2 separate regions of the Homo sapiens genome follow, and region 2 is linked to region 1. Evidence: promoter capture Hi-C in 16 types of primary human blood cells and fetal thymus (Javierre and others, 2016). All regions are on one chromosome and are shown on one strand. Each heading gives the region's core, a stretch centred on a gene start or on the middle of the fragment in contact. The rest is flanking DNA. Distances are from core to core; before and after follow the strand shown.

Region 1 (2,685 bases), core at 136-2,635:
ATGGCCACTCCCTCCTTTTTGAAACACTCTTCTCTGGGGCTGTGTGTTTTATATGTAATGAATAAGGATGACACTTCCAGCTCTCTCCAGCCTTATACCACTCCAAACAGTGCATTTTCCAATGGTGCCTTCTGGGTTCACAGGGCCTACAGCCTATTCTCTCTCAATGTGTCATTCCAAATTCTTGGCAGTCTTCAAGTCCCCCTGCTTACTGACTCTGTTTTAGACATCCATCTTTCTGAAACGCCTACTTTCCCCTACTCCCAGCCCACGGGCCCTCCATCTTTTGCATACTACTTTCTCTATAAAGCCTTTCTTAACAAGCCATCTGTCCCTCCCCTCCCAATTATCTCAGGACCTTTCTATACCCTTTCAAGCTTCTAGCCTAGCATTTATTGCTCTTAGATTACATGTTTCCAACTACAGTGTAAATTCTTTGAGGGCACGCACCTAGTCTTATTCTAATACTCGCACATAACAGACTTTATTAAAACAATGAATGAATATAAAGAGCGATAAAACTGCGCTAACTACCGGCAAGAGTTAATGTTTATTGCCCTATCAGTAGTTCTCCGGTTAACAACGATAATATGCTAGCTTAAGACTAATTCTAAAACTAGTCGTAGAAAGACTTTCTAGGATAAAACTGAAGGATGCCCTGCAAAACATAAGTACAGTGTATCTAGAACGTACGAACACATCACGTTTTACAGGAAACAGAGACTACAAATTGTAGACTTGACTACGTTTGGTTTTACAGCCGACAAAGGTTCTGTTTGGACGGCTGCCTCCGGCTACAACCTCCCTGTTTTTTCCGGCCGAAAACATGAAATAGAAACTAGTGCCCTATTTCTCCCAAGGCACCGCCAAACACCCCGCGTCGGGGTGGCGACACCGCAGGGGCCTCGGGAGGCGGCAGCCCCGAGCGCAAATGGAGACTCACCATTAGGAGGGTGAAGCCGGCAAGGTCGGGGGCCGACTCCCCGCAGGGAACGAACATGGTCGCAGTGGGGTGGCCAGCAGGGACTAACCGCGGCCCTGGCAAGAACGAGGGCAGCAAGAAGGCGGAAGCCCGAGACCCCGGAGCCTCGCGGGGCGCGGGAGGGTCCTTTGAGTCCCTGGGCGCCGGGCCCTTGAGGCCCGTCCAGCTAACTGCCGGTTCAGAGGGCGGAAAGAGGCCGCCGGGTGGCCGCGAAGAGGGGCCAGCAGCGCTTTCGGAGACCCTGGCAAGCAAGGCGATGGGGTGCGCTGAGGTCTCGGGGTGCGGGGCCCGCGGGGAGGTGGAGCGGCGGGCGGAAACGATCAGGCAGCGTGCGGGCCAGCCCCAAGCCCTGTTTGTCCGCCACTGTTTGAAAACAGTTGGCGCCGCCGCCGCCGGGGCCTCATTTCCAGGTCAGCCCCCGGCCTGACGCGGCGTTGCGTCCCCCGGGAGCTGCGCTAGGCGAACGGCTGCGGCGCTTTGTGCTCCAGTCGCTCCTAACGCTCCCTGGCCCGGCCGGGGCCGCGCAGTTAGGGCATCTGAGGCGGGGAGAAGCGGCGGGGAGACGCCGGCTGCCAGCATGTCGCTGCCTCCGGAGAAAGCCTCCGAGCTGAAGCAGCTCATCCACCAGCAGCTGAGCAAGGTGAGAGTCGCGGGTGCTGGGAGAGACCGCCGGGCCGACCCATAACCTTTCCCTCCTGCCCGGCGGCCCCGGGCCGACAGCGGCATCTGCTTGCCGGGACTGTAGCGAGGATTGTGGGGTGCGCAACGCAGAGTAGGCAGAGCTTTGAGTTTGAGGCAGGAGAGCGTCCTCGTCTCCGAGAAAGAAAACGAGCCGAGCAGGTGCTAGCAAGAGTCTGGGGCGATAGAACGAGCGGTCTTGGCGTTTTAGGACGGCCGTGAGAATGAAGCGCTTAGCGAGCGACTTCTGGAAGTCGGATCGAGTGTAAGTTGTATTTGGAGGTTTATATTCTGCTGTAAGATATCAGGTTTTTTTTCTTTCTTGAGACGGAGTCTCTCTGTTGCCCAGGCTGGAGTGCAGTGGCACGATCTCGGCTCACTGCAACCTCCGCCTCCCAGGTTTAAGCGATTCTCCGCCTCAGCCTCCCGAGTAGCTGGGATTACAGGCGCGCGCCACCACGCTCGGCTAATTTTTGTATTTTTAGTAGAGACGGTTTCACCATGTTGGTGTGGCTGGTCCCGAACTCCTGACTTCGTGATCCGGCCGCCTCGGCCTCCTAAAGTGCTGGGATTACAGGCGTGAGCCTCCGCGCCCGGCAGATATCAGGGTTTCTTTACCGCTGAAACATGTGGGTATCAGCGAAGTTGAACCAGGAGCTTCAATCAGCAATTCTCAAATAAGTCATGGAAGAGAAGTTACTAAAGGGTTTGTAATGACGGAATTTGTTAATATTTCGGAGCTCCAGAAGAACCTCCAGTTTCTGCAGCGCTCGCTCGACTGAGTGCAAGATGCTGAAGTGATAAAAGCGACCATTTATGGTGCCCTTGTGTGCCAGGCTTTGTGCTGTCTAGTATCTTTAATCCTCACAACACTATCGTGAGAGGGCACTACACTAGGTTTTTCCATTCTTATCGGTGACGAAACAGATTTATAAAGGGTAAATAAGTTGGCTTGAGGTTACACATCTACTAAGTTGAAAGCTGGTAAGATTCCCTTATCATTAGGCAGATCAAAGTATGAAAGT
Region 2 (2,685 bases), core at 88-2,587, 1.0 Mb before region 1:
TAAAAATGCTCACTGAATATTTTAGGTCTGTCCAACCAAACATTGTCTGGTAAGGAGAAAAAGGAAAAACAATCAATGGCTGTGTAATTGAAGCTTATATAGATACCTTCACTGCTGCATTAGGACAGGAGAGGTCTCAGCAACAACACAGTCTAAAAGACTGGAACCCTGCTAAAGAATTACCATGCAATAAAATTATGTATGGTTTGAGCTTGTCTGGACACTGGCCAGGAAGGTTCTAAATTACTGTCGTAACCAAAAGGCACTGTTGTAAAGAACTGGTTCTCAACTTGGGGCAATTTTGTCCACCAGGGGACATTTGGCAATGTCTGGAGAGAGTTTTCTGGTTATCGTAACTGGGGACAAGAGTGTTACTGGAAGGCATCTAGTGCGTAGAAGCCAGGAATGCTACTGAATATCCTACAATGCACAGCATCCCACAGCAAGGCATTATCCAGAACAAAATGTCAACAGTCCTGAGGCTGAGAAATCCTATTTTAAAGCAGTACTATCCTAGAAAACAGAATTTGGTAACACCAGTACTCATTCTTTCATCAAGTATTTACTGAGCACTCACCATGCAGTTTCTGTATCAAGCTCCGTCCTAGGTGCTGAAGAGCGTAATACACATAACTATTTCATGTTCAGATGGCCTTGCAAGGATCTCAAGAACAGCCAAACAAGTTCACCATGACTGAAATTTGTACATCTTTTCTAAATACTCACCTCCAAGGCCTGCATTCGTTTTAAGAGCATTTTATTTTCATTGTTCTTAATCTTTTCTTCGTAGAATTCCAGAAATGTTTTTTTGTAGACTAGTTTCATATTGTACTTCTTTGCCATTCTGTCCAAAAAAGAATACTTAATGAAAAAGCTTCCACATGTTTGTAATTCCTCAACTTACTTTTGTACAGCAATGACATCTTCTGGACTTAACTAAAAAAGCTACCACTCCCTTGATAAATTCACAATACAGTAATACAAAATGAATCAAGAGTAACATATCACACCTAAAAGAAACATGCATTCTAAATCTCAGGGGTTTCAGAGGGCTCTATTAGTATAACATAAAGGTCAGGAAGTAAATGAGAGTCTCCGGAGCTGTGAGATGCGGAAAAAGTGTAGGAAACTCTTTTCTACTGATTCCATTTCACTTTACTTGATCTCTCACAGCTGCACTGCAAACAGCTGCCAACTTCCTTCTTAAAGATTCACTTTCATCTCGACTTCTCTGGCAAGATACACTATTAATTTTTCCCCTACATCATGAACTGCTTCTTTGCAGGTTTTTTTTTTTTCCTTTTCACTTACAGGTTTTTTTTTACCCAACTTCTAAACTTCAAGGTTCTGTAGAGTACAGTCCAGAGCCCTACTCACTTCCACCCCCCAGCTATCGGTAGTTCAGCTGTCTCTCATCACTCATGGATTCTACTGCTTATTAGAAATCTTCACCTGCATGTGTCACTGGCACTCTCTAACGTCCCACATCTAAGGCTGAACATCACTGCTCTTTTACTGCCAATCTTTGCCATTTCAGTAAATCCACCTAGTGATCCATGCCATCTCCCCTTCTCTTTTACCCACTGTGCTCAATACACATCACTAAGTCCTTTCTATTTTACCTAGAAAACATCAATTTCAAATAGGTCCACTTCTTACCTCCTGCATTTGGCACCATCCTGCTGCTTCAGTCACCATCACCACTCAGTGGCACCAGTCCATAAACTCACTTTGCTTGTCCCCTGCTTCCATTCTTACTCTCCCTCAATGAATTTTCCAATCGCAGCCAGATTAAGCTTTCAGAAATGCGGACCTGAGTCATGTCACTACCCCCTTAACACCCTCCACTGGGCTCCAGTGCACTTAGGATACAGAACATGGTCTCGAAGACATTCATCTGTAAAGGAATGCTGCCTCATTTTGGGACAGCCCCCGATATAAATCAGGATGGGCCTTCTTTCAACATCTTGGACTAGCCTAGCTTTCCCACTGCTGGGCCCTCACACACGCTGTCCTCTTGTCAGGAGCATTCTTCCCTCCAGTCCTCAGCTGCCCACCTACTTTTCCATCCTTTAGATCCTGACTCAAACATCGATTCTTTACAGGCACCTTCCTTAAATCTTAATTATATTAGGTCTCTCCGTTAGACTCTCAGGTAGTTTTTTTCCTCACTGCATTTGCCAAGTTTATAATCATGTATCTGTAGACAACAAGAGGGAGCCTGGAGATGACTTCAGGCAGCAGTTAAAGGAAGAGTGGAAGGAAGGGGAGAAACCCTGAAAATTAGGTGGGAAGGCTCGTGTACAGGGTGGCATTTGAGGGGATAGGGTAAGGGCAAACACTGGAGGGCCACTGAGGTTTCTATGTAAGAGGTATACGTAAGGCAGGATTCTGTTACTTCAATTAATCCTCCTTGGAAAGGCAACATGAGCAAAATTAAGTCTTTTATTCCAGGCAGTTCATTTTCTTTTGTAAATCTCTAAAATAAGCCTTTAGAAATGAAACCAAGTTTTTTATTCCAGGCAGTTCATTTTCTTTTGTAAATCTCTAAAATAAGCCTTTAGAAATGAAACCAAGTTTTTTATTCCAGGCAGTTCATTTTCGTTTGTAAATCTCTAAAATAACCCTTTAGAAATGAAACCAAGTTTTACACCTAAAAAAATCATGATTCAAAGAATTGAGGCC

What was found. The method cuts DNA at HindIII sites, captures the fragments that hold promoters and counts their contacts. A CHiCAGO score of 5 or more calls a contact.
Region 2: a contact is called between a fragment that was not itself captured here and the fragment with the promoter of CEP76 in region 1, in 2 of 17 cell types (total CD4 T cells and naive CD4 T cells). The highest score is 5.6, in total CD4 T cells.

Annotation. Positions count from the first base shown.
Region 1 is chr18:12,701,423-12,704,107 of GRCh38, reverse strand. It overlaps CEP76 (centrosomal protein 76), which reads left to right and starts at 1,385. Exons shown (of 12, transcript NM_024899.4): 1 at 1,385-1,622. The coding sequence starts at 1,560. It overlaps PSMG2 (proteasome assembly chaperone 2), which reads right to left and starts at 1,066. Exons shown (of 7, transcript NM_020232.5): 1 at 944-1,066. The coding sequence starts at 1,000. RefSeq lists enhancers at 1,698-1,747, 1,758-2,057, 1,343-2,240. The HindIII fragment of the contact is 2,487 bases long and covers 380-2,685 here.
Region 2 is chr18:13,744,379-13,747,063 of GRCh38, reverse strand. RNMT (RNA guanine-7 methyltransferase) reads right to left here. Exons shown (of 12, transcript NM_003799.3): 9 at 727-844. Among named protein-coding and RNA genes, the nearest start is that of RNMT, 19 kb to the right of the region's middle. The HindIII fragment of the contact is 922 bases long and covers 877-1,798 here.